3 separate regions of the Homo sapiens genome follow, and all the other regions are linked to region 2. Evidence: promoter capture Hi-C in 16 types of primary human blood cells and fetal thymus (Javierre and others, 2016). All regions are on one chromosome and are shown on one strand. The core of a region is centred on a gene start or on the middle of the fragment in contact, and the rest is flanking DNA. Distances in the headings are between cores, read along the strand shown.

Region 1 (4,425 bases), core at 394-2,893, 520 kb before region 2:
ATTTAGATAAGAGTACTAGAGCTGGTTTGAATTAGAGGGGAATAAGCTGTGTAAGTTGCCTTCTTTCTTTTACTTCACCTGCAGTTCCTTTGGGAAGCTCTTTGCTGAGCCAGGATTAGAGAAATTTTATTCCTATAACTGTAACTTGTTTTGACCAGCTTGCCCCACCAGTTGAGAGCTATAGTTTGAAGAATTCTCAAGCAAAGAGACTTTACCTGGTTGATGAGTTCAGAATTCAGATAAAGCCTTGAAAGTGGGAATGAGTCATTGTTGGTGCCTGATGGCTATAATTCTCGAAGGTAATCGGGTTTAAAAGCAGTTTTTTTGGTGAATGATGTCATCCTCCATAAAAGCAGATTTTAATTTCTTTTAAGATACCAGTGGAAGTTGTGACCCAGAAATGCCCCAATGAGACCTTACAGATGGCTATTTTCCTGTGCTGTTTGGCATATGTTCATGAAAACCACAGGGGAAAATTGGCTTTGACATGCTTGTGCTTTAAGGTATATGCTGCAGTACCTTGTAAAGGTTCATTTTATTGCCAAATATAACATTCAGTTACCAACTGGAAGTGTAAAAGTTCATATTTTCTTTTTTCTGTTTTTTTTTTTTTAACTTTTAAGACATTATATTTACTAAGATTCTGGCGATAGCTTTATGTAACAAGACACAGCATACCAGGCTTGCTACTCAACTTGTTTATGGTAAGTCTCAGCCTCAATATGAAGCTGTATTTTTTTTAAAAATCAAAACCCTGCTTTTTATATGCTCAATATCTTGGCAAGTGTGCCATTAAACACAGCAGTGAACTTAAGACAGCAAGAGAAAGGAGTTAACAAAAGCTAAACATTGCAGCCTAAACAAACTTCATACAAAAAATAAAGGAACTATCACTGGTTACATGGAATTTTCCTGACTAATTAAAACTTTATGGTATGAAACATGCACTTTAGAATATTTAGTTTTCAAGTTCAAAAAGTACCAGTGTACCAGTGTCTATTTGAAACCATTTCTCTCCAAAGCCAAAGTGTCATCAAAATTAATTCAAATGACCCAGCATATTCTAATGCTAAAAAATATTCAGTATTATTGAAGTGGAGGTAAATCCCAGGGGTTTTGGGGCTTTCTCATGCTGCAAAAGGGCTGTTTCTCTGGTTCATTCAAAGAAGCGTATGACAAAATCCAAGGATGTCCCTAAGCTCAGTAAAAGGCAAGACTCCTGGCACCCAGCTCTGACCTCTCCATAAAGCCTGGCTACTCTTTCCTCAAATACAGGAAGTGTGAGGATCAAAGGCATGTTGTTCTCCTAGCTTAAAGAGACAGCAAAGCACCTCCTCCCTGCATCCTAAAAAGCACCTTTCCCAGGTAAATAAAAGTCTACACGGGGAAAAAATTAAAATACACTGATCTACAGAGTACGGATTTTGAAATGTCAATGTAATCCTTACTTCAAAAATTTTAACTACTTTAAAATTTTTAACATCTGGCCGTTTCTGATTCCACCTTAAAGATGTATTCAAGTTGGATTTCTGTTGATTTATCATTGTACACTTCTAGTCAAAAATATTAATTTTATTCCCAAATATTGTAACCACTAGTGCTACTGCAATGTATTATCTCCCAGAGTTATCAAGCACTGGAAGAGAAAAGAATAGATAAGCAGCAGGCAACATTTACGGCCCTTGCACACAGCGGCATTTGAATAGCTACTGGGTAGTCTGGGGATAATTCTTTTTTTTTTTTTGAGATGGAGTCTTGCTCTTTTGCCCAGTCTGGAGTGCAGTGGCACCATCTCAGTTCACTGCAACCTCTGCCTCCCGGGTTCAAGTGATTCTCCTGCCTCAGCCTTCCAACTAGCTGGGATTACAGGCACCAGCCACCAGGCCCAGCTAATTTTTGTATTTTTAGTAGAGACGGGGTTTCACCCTGTTGGTCAGGCTGGTCTCAAACTCTTGACTTCAGGTGATTCACACGCCTTGGCCTCCCAAAGTGCTGGGATTACAGGCGTGAGCCACTGCGTCTGGCCAGTCCAAGGATAATTCTAAAAACAAGAAAATTCATGCATTATAGTAAATATGTTGTAATTTTCACAGTTGAAATTTCCTTAGACATTGTACTTTCTCTATAAGGGAATCCTGATTTTTCTTAATATTATGATGAGTCAGGACTTGAACTAGCAGCCTTCTTTCTCTTCTTACTGTTTTTCTCATGCTCCTTTTTCCTTTTTTTGTGTTGTTTTTTCTCATTCTTCACTGCTTTTCTTCTTTTTTGCTCTTATCTCCTCAATATACTCTGATTCTGACAAGGACTCAGGTGATAAAGATTTATCTTCAGAATATGGGTTTCTTTTTGCTGAGTCGTTTAATAGCCTTTTTCTTTCTCAGTTGGGTCCTTCTTTTTCTTTAAAAAGAAGTCTTTCTTCCTTATTGTCTTTCTATCCTTACTGTCTGATTCAGTTTCTGACATGGAGCTTTCAGAAGATTTATGTGAATGGTTCTTTTTCTTTCTCCCTTTTCCATGTTTCTTATCCTCATCCTCAGAATCAGAAGAACTGCTGGAAGAATCAGAGCATGATGAAGACGATGAATACCTACCAGATTTATTCTTTTTCTTTTTTTTTCTCTTTTTTTGGATAAGCTCTTACTTTCACTTAACAATTTCTTCCTGTGTTTTTCTAGTTTTTTCTTCAAATTCATACAAAGCCTTGGCGCCTTTTTCTTTTTCTTTTCTAGTTGCTCTTGCACTTCTTCCCAGATAGGCCTTGGTTGACGGAGAGAATCCTGGATTGTTGGCCCTTAAGACTGGATTGGACCCCTTGATCTGGCCATTGCTGTTGGATTCACATAGGCTACCCGATGGTCCTGCTTCTCCTTGGTGCCCGAGTGAGCGCACAGTCACTCATCAAGGGACACGGTCACCCACCAAGGGAAACCTGGCTCGGGAGGCAGCTGAAGTAGGCCTGCCGCAGGTCCTTCTGCACTAAAAGTTCGTATTTTCATGAAAATCTTACCAATGTGTTTAGCAGGCTTGCTTGTTTCATTTTCCCCCCATTAGTCAGTGCCTACTTGGTTTACCACTAGAGGGCATTGTTGGCAGTGATATCAAGAGAAAGCATACTACAGCATTTTGCCAAAAAATTTTGTGCAATCTTTTTCAATTTTCATTTCAGCCAGTAAATAAAAACATACATTTAAAAGCTACTTCATTTAATATTTTATTTTTATATTTTATGCATCCCAAATACTGAGCTTCTAGGCTTTTTGTGTGTATTAATTTAATAAAAGAGAAATCATTGTAAACTTTGGTTCCAGTTTTCCAACAAACGCTAAATCTAGAATCTGTCAGTTTTCCCCCTGCAATGTAATACACTCTCACACATCCTTTCTTGGAATGTTATCGAGCACTTGGAGACTCATTATTTTTTATTTCCCAAAAGAGTGAAACTATTCTATTTTCCATATCATGGCTTTCCTGATATTTGTCAGAGGATCTCAAACTAGCAAGGGACCTTCAGTTTATCTAGTTCAACTATTTATAATAGACAGAATTTCTTCTACACAGTGATGAAGGGCTGTCTAAACCTCAAAATGATAAGAGAAGCGTTTTCCATTTTGGAACAACTGTATTATTTATTGGAAAGTTCATCAGGTGAAGGCAGAAGTTTGCCTCTTTGAAATGTATTGTATCAGATAAGATCTTTTAGTTGCAGATAACAGGAACCAAATCAAGCTTGCTTATGAAAAAGGGGGGTAGATTAATTATTAGAAAATAGAGGTGTCCGGGGCCTTTTGGGGGGTGGGGGGCAAGGGGAGGGAGAGCATTAGGACAAATAATGCATGTGGGGCTTAAAACCTAGATGACGGGTTGATGGGTACAGCAAACCACCATGGCACATTATGCCTACATAAAAAACCTGCACATTCTGCACATGTATCCCAGAACTTGAAGAAGAAAAAGAAAACAGAGGTGTCTTGTGGGCTGTGGGTAACTGGACACCTGAGATCTGTCGGTACTCAATCTCTCTCAGTCTGCTGCATCTGCTTCCTTCTATGTAATTACTTCATTCATTTCTCTCTGCACATCAGGATTTTCTGCTTCTCGCATCCCCATGGTGAAATATGCCATTTGAATGATAAAAATGACAAATAACTTTTGTTACCTAGCTGGAGTAGGCTGTTTCAGCATTCTATGAAGCTGGCCACCTCGGGATGGTGCAGTATGTGATTTGATCTGTCGTTCCCAGGGTCACAGGCCCACTCTCACACTGCCTTCATGGTGAAGTAGGTCTCTTGGTTGGATGCTTTGTTGTGTGGGTTTCCAGGTCTGTGGATGAGGCACTCCATAAGCCCTTGGTAATGGTGCTGGCTAAGGCTGTGCAGGCAGGAAAGGAAAACACACGCTTAGGACAGGTATCTGTCCCTGTGA
Region 2 (4,258 bases), core at 377-2,876:
CAACCTCAGGCAATCTGCCAGCCTTGGCCTCCCAAAGTGCTGGGGTTATAGGCATGAGCCACCGCGCCCGGCCAAAAGGCAGAAAGTTCTAAGAAGGAGAGGTCAACATTGGCAAATGCCACAAAGGGCACAAGATGGGAATTAAATTTTTCCATTAGATTTGGCAATTAAGCAATGGCTGATGTTGTTCAGTGGAGTGAAAGGCTGAGAAGGGAATGAGAGGTTAGGAAACATTCACCTTAAGGCTAGGCAACTCCTTTGAAAAGAGTCAAGTAGGGTTAAGGGAGGATCCATGCCCTCCAGGTTGACTTTTAAATCATATTCCCTTTGGTTTTGCATTTGAATCACAGTGAACTTTCTCCTCTCCAAATGTTGATTTGACAAATTTGAGTCTTACCATGGCTCTCTTCTCAGTCCACCTGCAGGTCAAGGAACTAATGAGGTGTGGAGTAACTAAAGGTCAAAAAACAAGAGGAAGAAACAAAGGGCCAAAAAACCCCAAACCTTAAATCAGGTCCTGAGTCAGATACGCTGTAACAAATTCTGCTTCAAGTTTAATATTCTTGTTTTGATGATGTTTAAAAAAAGAAAAATAAAAGCAAGTGTCTGGAAAATTAAAAGGCGGGGTGGGGGGGGGCATTTTAATTGGAATGCTTTCTTGTATCTCATCCACTATCCGCACCCCATCGCCCTGCAAATTAATAGCTGTTGCGGAGTTGGGGTATGTGTGACCACAAAATCCAAAGGCTGAATTTTGCCCAGTGCCTGAGTAATTGCATGCCACACACAAAAAAACAGTAGAATATTGAAAACAACATACACATCTGTATTTCCATATGAAAGCACCCGTTTCCTTTCTTGATTATCTGCTATTTTTAAAGGGGTTGGGAGTGCAGCGGGGCGGGGGGATGAGGCGTTTTTTCTGAATACGAGCCCAGCTCTTTCTAAACTTTTGTTACTCACGTCCGTTTGATTCATTTGCTGTGTTTTTTCTTTCTTTCTTTTTTTTTTTCCCCTCTCCTGCCTCTGTCATTGCCTGCTGCTAAGAGGGACGCTGAATCACAGCCACTGCAGATGAAAAGCAATTCAAACCCAGTCCTTGGAGGGGGGATGGAACGGCTCTTTTTGATTTTTTTCCCCTCTGCAGAAAAAGCCTCCTACTTTCCGGGTGACCGTAGAGGGCAGTTTGACAAGTCTCAGCCCCGGGCGATGGAAGATTTTGCCCGTGGGACCGTCACGAGCCACCGGTCATCTCCCCGCGCCCGGCTTTCGGGTCCTCAGGCCTCGGTGCGTCGCGGGCCAGGCGACAGCGGGGGGGCGTCGCGGGCCGGGCGAGCGTGGCCCGGTGGGCCCGAGGGTCGCGCCGAGCTCCCCGCCGCTTTAAAAGCTCCCACAATGCAGCGCTGGCGTCCCAGTTCCGTTACGAGGTCTCTCCCGGCGCCGGCGAGCGGGCCAGGCGCGGGCGGGGCGCGGAGGAGCGGCGGCTGAAACCCGAGCGCCCGGCCGAGGGGGGCGCCCCCGCGCCGCTCCTCTCGCGCGCTCAGCCGCTGCCCGGCGAAGGGGCGGAGCCGCCTGGCCGCCCGGCCCGGCCCGGCCCGGCCCGGCCCCCAGCCCGGCCCCCAGCCCAGAGGCACCGGCCGCGGGAGCGAGCGGGTCGCCGACTCCTACGCCCGCGCTCCTCCTACGCCCGCGCTCGTCCGGCGCCCCGCGCCGCGCCCCGCTCAGCGTCTGCCGCCCAGCTCCTCGCCCAGCCTCGCCGAGCCTCGCCCTTCCCGCCCGCGGCGGCGTTGGCGCTGGGGGCGGCTCCCGCGGCGTCTCTGCCGCTGGCCGAGCGCTCGCGCACCGCGGCACCCCCGCCAGTGGCGTCCACACTCACCTAGCGCGGGCCGGGAGGTGCGCGGAGAGGGAACGCCGGGGGGCCGGGGCCTCCAGCCGGTGCGGGGCGCGCGGCGCGGGGAGCGCCGGGGAGTGCCGGGGAGTGCGGCGCGGGGACGGGCGCTGGGCGGCCGCGGAGCTCCGGGTGCCGCCGCGTCCCCAGCGCCCCGGCCGGCCCCTCTGGGCGGCCTGCGGGGGCGGCGCAGTTGCGAAACTGAGTAAGTATTAACTTTACTTAGCGGCGGCGATCCGGGCTGCGCCGGGGACCCCGCCCGTCCCGCCTGCAGCCTCGGAGCTGCCCTCCGCCCGGTTGCCCCTCTCTCCGCACCTTGGGTACCTCGTCCGTTCCGCCCCCACCCTGCCCCGCCGCGGGCTCCCGCTCCCTCTGCGTTCACCTTTCCTGGTGTGTCACCCTTTGCGCCTCTCCTCGCGGCACACAAGCCGCGGACTGAAAAGTACGAGCTTGGTCTTTGCTTTTCTGCTTCCTCCCAGTGTCCTTGGCAAGGGAGTTTAGAGGCCACTTTTCTTGCAAAGGGAATTTTATGTCTGGTTTTTAAAATATTTTTTCCTCCGGATGGAAATCGGATGCTCGCTTGCCGGGTGGCGGTTTGGTGAACGCTTTTCTCCTCTAAAAAAATATTGGTTTATAGGTTTTTAAATTTCATTTGAACTATTAACCATCTGCATTCTATTCTCCTTTGCCGCCAGTCCCTTTGGGGAGGGGAGTCCAGAAGAGGGGACGTTCAAAGTAATTCTGACTTGCAAACTAGAAAGTTTGAGAGGGTAAATCGCACAAAGCCGGAAGATTCAACTTGAAGGGACGCGAGCTTTGAATGTGGGTCCTGGTGCGGCACTGGGTTTTAAAAGATGAGTACTTGGGTTCGGAATCCAGTGTTGCGTTGTTATTTTAGCATCATAGAGCCGCCTGGTGTTGCTAAACCACTACTTTCCCAGCCTCAAATGGCATCTTGAACAGTGCAACGTAGGATATATAATTGCGGGTCAATATTGTTGCTGATCTTTAGGGATTTAGAAGCGAAATGAATGCAAATCACGTCTCATAGCTGACTTAAACCTGTCAGGTTAGCCCTGTCAGGTTAGCATTAAAGCATTTCATTAAAAAAAAAAATCCTCTAGCCCTGTGACAGCAGGGACGAACATTTATGGATTTTCCAGTAGATTGTGGCTCAGCAATTCATTAGATCTGCTTTGTCCCCAGGAAGCATTTTAAAATATGTATAAATCTCTGCTTTTCTCTCCATTAGATTAACCACTCATTCTGGTAGGGGGCCCCAGGTAGTTTTTATTTTCTTTTTTGCCTTTCATCTTGGAGTTGCCAGGAGTTGCCATCATGTTATGAAGGAACAGAAAATGAGAAGCTTTCTTAATGGGTTTTCGACATCCTGTCCTTTGCCAGAGTGAGGCGGTAGTGAATGCCAGCCAGCTTTCTGCAGGGAGAGGTGCAGGGTGGACGCAAAAATCAGGACGCAGGAGACAGCACTATCATTTGGGGAAGTGGTTTGTGTGAGTTTTATCTTTTAGCGGGCATACTAATGGTACTTTTAATTTTATTTATCTCTATGAGGCACACTCCCCAAACCATAAAATTACACATGACCATCCCCCACTTGAAGAAGACTGAACATAGTTTGATGATTATTCTATTCAAGGATCAAGTACAACAAAATATAATTTGTAATACAGATGATAAAACCTTTCAAAAATCTCCCCCTTCCTCATTTTTTTCCTCAAGAGTCTCCAGGTGGTACTTTCTGTGATGGACACAATTGGCAGTAATGCACTGAGTTCTTTCTAGGTTTATTGATCAAATCTTATGTCTGGGCTTTAGTAGCTTAGGGGTGCATTAGAGGGCCCTGAGAGGGAGCAAATCATGGGGCTGTGCAGGCAGGAAAGGCACTTCACTTTGCAGAAGTGTCAGTGTGCTTCTGGAAAAAACAGTTACAAAGAACAGAGAGTGTTTAAGTTGTTTATAGGATGCATGTTTCCTGAATTTGGCATTTGGTTCAGATATTTGGTAATTACAGATTTAAAATTCGACATGGTTGTATAATTTGTTTTGCCTTTTATTTATTTTTTTAAGGTTGCAACCTTTTAACCTGAATCTTCAGTGTTTGGCTCTTGTAGGCTTCTATACGTGGTGACTTACGTCAGTTTTTGACCTGACTGCCTTGTGTTTTGAGAAATGATTAGTTCTTCAGGGTTTCTGACTCATTAATTGATCTGTTTTATGTTGATGTATATAATGACTTGGAAGTAAAAATATTGTTTGCCGTGGGATATTGTTGTCTTTTTCTTATGGTTAATTCCTGGCATAATGGCTTTGCTCCTTTATTATAAAACATTAAGATCTTAGATATCTTGC
Region 3 (4,785 bases), core at 1,480-3,979, 760 kb before region 2:
GCTTGTTAGAAATGCATATTTATGGACTAAACGTGTGTATGCTCACTTCTCTTCCTACACTGTGGTTTAGTAGATGTTATGGGCTGAATTGTATTGCTCAAAAAATTACATGTTGTCCGGGTGCGGTGGCTCACAGCTGTAATCCCAGCACTTTGGGAGGCCGAGGCAGGGGGATCACCTGAGGTCAAGACCAGCCTGGCCAACATGGTGACACCTCGTTTCTACTAAAAATACAAAAATTAGCTGGGCGTGGTGGCATGCACCTGTAATCCCAGCTACTCGGGAGGCTGAGGCAGGAGAATCGCTTGAAGGAGAATCGCTTGAACCCGGGAGGCAGAGGTTTCAGTAAGCCGAGATCGCGCCATTGCATTCCAGCCTGGGCAACAGAGCGAAACTCTGCCTCAAAAAAAAAAAAAAAAAAAAAAATCATATGTTGGCTGGGTGCACTGGCTTACTCCTGTAATCCCAGCATTTTGGGAGGTCAAAGTGGGAGAATCACTTGAGCCCAGGAGTTTGAGGGCAGCCTGGGCAACAAAGCAAGACCCTGTCTAAAAAAATTTAAAAATTAGCTGGGTGTGGTGGCACGTGCCTTGTACTCCCAGCTATTCAGGAGGCTGAGTTGGGAAGATTGCTTGAACCAGGGAGGCTGAGACTTCGATAAGCCATGATGGTGACACTGCATTGCAGCCTAGGTGACAAAGCGAGACAGTCTCAAAAAGAAAAAAAAAAAAGAAAAAAAATTCATACGTTGAAATTCTGATCCCCAGTACTTCAGAATTTGATCTAATTGGAGACAGGGTCACTGCTGATTTTATTAGTTAAATTAAGATGAAGCCATACTGAATAGGGTGGGCCCCTAATCCAATATGATTTGTGTCCTTATATAATAATAATTTTAATATACTCAGATGGAGAATGCCATGTGAAGAATGAAGTTTTGTTGCCACAAACCAAGAAACTACTAGAAGCCAGGAAAGGTCTGAACAGATCTCTCCCTAAGGCCCTCAGAGGTATCACAGACCTGCTGACACTTTGATCTTGGACTTCTAGTCTCCAGAACTACGAGACAATAAATTTCTTTTCTTTAACCACTCAGTTTGTGGCAATTCCTTACTTGGCAGACTTAGGAAACTAATACAGTAGATTTGGAGTTGAGTGGGTTCCTGGAATCTGCATTTTTAACAAGTACTCCGGGTGCATTAGAAATAAATGTTCCATGGGCCACACTTTGAGAAACATTGGGAGAAGGATCTAAGAAGAAGAAGAAACTCAGGTAACAAATTGGAAGGTAACAAGTAAGTGCTTACTGTTCCCCCAATTTATTAGCAATTATAAATTGACTTAAGGTCCATTTGCATTCCGCCAGGAATGCTCTCCACTCCCTATTTCTTTTTTTCTCTTTTTTTTTTGAGACGGAGTCTCGCTCTGTCACCCAGGCTGGAGTGCAGTGGCACAATCTCGGCTCACTGCAACCTCCGCCTCCCAGGTTCAAGCGATTCTCTTGCTTCAGCCCCCTGAGTAGCTGGAATTACAGGTGCGCGCCAACACGCCCGGCTAATTTTTGTATTTTTAGTAGAGACTGGGTTTCACCATGTTGACCAGGCTGGTCTCGAACTCCTGACATCGTGATCTGCCCGCCTCGGCCTCCCAAAGTGCTGGGATTACAGGGGTGAGCCACCGCGCCAGGCCTCCACTCCCTATTTCTTCCCACCATATGTGGAAAACTCGTATTTATACTTTAAAACAGGTTGAAAAGCACCACTCTCCTTCCCTTGTTTCCCCTCACTGAAATTTCATCATTTCCAACTGTGTGTTACCCCATTTTAGATGCTTCAATTGTTACAGTTGTAAAGCTGTATTGTAATTAATTTGTTTAATCTGTATCCTATAAGCAGAGTTGTCGTCATGTTCTTCTTGGTATTCTTGGCTTCTAGCCCAGTGCCAAGTACAAAGAATGCACTCCACATTTTTCCCTTAATTAATGAATTAAATAAGTAATTACATTCTCCACTTCCTCTGGTTTTAATTATAGAAAATGTCTTGATGGAAACCACATTTAAGAAAATCAGAGATACTCTCATAGCTACATGTTGGCCTGTCTCCTTGCTGAAAACATGGCAGTTGAGGAGTGCAGAAAAACAAAATGAGAAGCCTTATCATATTTAACTAATGCAGGATGAGAACCTTGAATCACAAAACAATTCATATTCCCACAAAAGACGACATAAAATATTTTTTCAAAGCAGAGTAAATTGCATTAGCTTTTAATTAACTGCTGGAGAAGTACTAAAACATTTCCGCCAAGTTGCAATAAGAAAATTTAGTGGGAACGTCTATCACTACTGAAAGTTACTAGGTTGGGACCAATTTTCAAGCTTAGCAACATTCGAGATCAGGATACCGTGTGACAGCTTTGACCATCTCCCGTTTGCAGAAACTGGTTTGGGACTCCTACCTGTCCGCCTGGTCCAGGTAAGGAAAGCCATTGCTGAGAAGAGGGCCGACCCACCCCAAGGTATGAGTTATTTCCCAAACCGACCCGCTTCGCTGTAAAATATGACTGGCTCTTGATTACATTATTTAACACTGGTGAAGCAGAATCAGTGGTCGCCCCTCCACCTGTCTGCCTCATTTGCCTTGCTCACCATTAAGAGTCAAGCTCCACTGCAGTAGTCCGCAGAGTCGGAGCAGAAATTGTGTGGACAAACGCTCCCGGGTTGCCCGGACGACAGGCCCCGCCCACTTGAGCTCCAGGAAAAGAGCGCAGCCGCGCGGAGGCTCTTCCGGCCGGCGCCCCGCCCCCTTTACTGACAGGTTGCCCACCTCCCCCAACGCCACCCCGCTTCGCAGTAGACGGACAGAGGAGTCGTAGCGGTCGAGGCTTTTGCGGCTCCGGCGTGCCGGAAAGTGCGTGAGTGCCGCCGCCGGGGAGTTTTGTTCCATTTCCCGGATCCTGGGGTCTGGAGGCGAAATATGCTCTGGGCGAGGACCACCGGGTGTGGGAAGAGGGTTCTGAGCGTCTCCTGACGTTGACGGTTTATTTCCTAGAGTGTGTTGGGTCTTTCTGTGAGGGTTTCGAGAAGGAAACAGGCATGCGACTGGTTCATGCAGCGGACACCCGGTGGGAGGCCTGGGCCTCTGCGGTTTAATCCAGCAGGGGGATGGGGCTCATTCCGCAATTTAAAGAGAGAAATAAGTTGGCTCCAGAGGGTTGGTTATTTTAAGATTAATGACCTTCGGATTCTTCTTTCTGCTCTATTGTTTACTTTCTGTGCAGCGTACGCGTCCTTTTTCCTAAGAGCGCCCTAAACAAGAATTGAAAATGAAGCAATTCCTGGCTAAAATATTCCTTAACATGAAGATCGCTGAGGCCCCAAAGACTCATTAGTTTCCCGAGGTCACAGACTAATTTTACTAACCACACAACCTTTAGAATTTCAGTCTCCTCCCACATGAAGAAACGCCGGCACCTTACACCGACAGGAAAACTACAATTAAGTGAGGCTGTTCTCCTCAAGCCCGACTGAGTTCTCTGTAATTGTAGGGCATACCTACACCCTGTTTTAGCATTATGAGACCTGAAATACTTTTAAATTACTGGCACCATTTCTCATCTCTGAATTATAAGTTTATAATGCTCTATCCCTTCCAGTGTTATTGACTACATGCATTATTCATAGATAAGTAGTAGGACTAAGCTAGTCTTTGTGGGTTAAAGTGTTATTATCCCTATTGTAACCTGTAACTATTATAGGTTGTGTAATAGTTATTAGCATTTTACATCCATATCCTGGTAGCAAGATAAAAACATTTTAATAGCGACTTCGTACAGAGTTCTTACTCAGTTTACCATAGCTGTTTGATATGAAAGTTAAGGCTTCCTTTTAAATTAGTTTCAGTAAAACTAATGTTTAATGATAAAACACCTCAGTCAACTCAAGTTAGGATTCATCGGGGTAAGGAGATAGTTCAGTAATCCCAAGTTACCTTAAAATAGTGGGCTTTTAGAGGAAAGGCTTTACTGAAGCTCTCACTGTATCTACCCCATGGGGAACAATGATTAACAACTTTGGCCACCACATAACCCCCAGTAAAATGACAATTTTCCATTAGCCTGGAACTGGAACTGGTTAAGTCCTAACTCCTTAGCCTAGAATGACAGGGGGAAAAAACTATCAATGGGGACTGCAACCGCTGTCTCATCCAGCGCACACATCCAAGTTTTCAGAATAATAGGGGGCTTCTCTTAGTCCTTAACTCTTGGCTCTTTACTTAAAACAGTAACCTCCATGACTTCATGCAGAGTTCAGGAGCAGCCTCAGGGCCCTGCTGAACTCAAAATTGTTTATTCACTACATTGTGAACCCAAGGAGACCTATTTCTCTTAGTGGCTAAAGTAAACCTAAATGCTTCAAGGTCAACTGCATAAAGATAAACTGCATTGCCTGGTGTGGTGGCTCACGCCTGTAATCCCAGCATTTTGAGAGGCCAAAGTGGGTGGATCACGAGGTCTGGAGATGGAGACCATCCTGGATAACACAGTGAAACCCCGTCTCTACTAAAATAATACAAAAAATTAGCCGGGCGTGGTGATCAGCACCTGTAATCCCAGCTGCTCTGGAGGCTGAGACGGGAATCGCTTGAACCCGGGAGAGGGAGGTTGCAGTGAGCCAAGATCGCACCACTACACTCCAGCCGGGTCAACAGAGCAAGACTCCGTCTCAAAAAAAAAAAAAGATAAACTGCATTAATTCATATAAGTTAACATATCAAAGAAGAACAAAT

Evidence for each region. Contacts are between HindIII fragments. The CHiCAGO score rates a contact against its expected background, and 5 or more counts as called.
Region 1: a contact is called between a fragment that was not itself captured here and the fragment with the promoter of RASSF8 in region 2, in 13 of 17 cell types (endothelial precursors, M1 macrophages, megakaryocytes and 10 more). The highest score is 23.7, in endothelial precursors.
Region 3: the fragment with the promoter of DNAI7 here is called in contact with the fragment with the promoter of RASSF8 in region 2 in 3 of 17 cell types (M1 macrophages, M2 macrophages and fetal thymus); the score reaches 8.3 in M1 macrophages.

The regions. Positions count from the first base shown.
Region 1 is chr12:25,433,431-25,437,855 of GRCh38, forward strand. It overlaps the pseudogene FAM133GP. Among named protein-coding and RNA genes, the nearest start is that of LMNTD1, 120 kb to the right of the region's middle. The HindIII fragment of the contact is 4,168 bases long and covers 1-3,727 here.
Region 2 is chr12:25,957,056-25,961,313 of GRCh38, forward strand. RASSF8 (Ras association domain family member 8) reads left to right here and starts at 1,627. Exons shown (of 6, transcript NM_001394098.1): 1 at 1,627-2,093. RASSF8-AS1 (RASSF8 antisense RNA 1) reads right to left here and starts at 2,387. Exons shown (of 4, transcript NR_038228.1): 1 at 2,271-2,387. RefSeq lists silencers at 1,239-1,728, 1,829-1,928, 1,999-2,048, 2,189-2,238. The HindIII fragment of the contact is 3,942 bases long and covers 1-3,252 here.
Region 3 is chr12:25,192,431-25,197,215 of GRCh38, forward strand. It overlaps DNAI7 (dynein axonemal intermediate chain 7), which reads right to left and starts at 2,730. Exons shown (of 16, transcript NM_018272.5): 1 at 2,646-2,730. The coding sequence starts at 2,648. ETFRF1 (electron transfer flavoprotein regulatory factor 1) reads left to right here and starts at 2,807. Exons shown (of 3, transcript NM_001001660.3): 1 at 2,807-2,907. RefSeq lists an enhancer at 3,048-3,167. The HindIII fragment of the contact is 2,518 bases long and covers 2,374-4,785 here.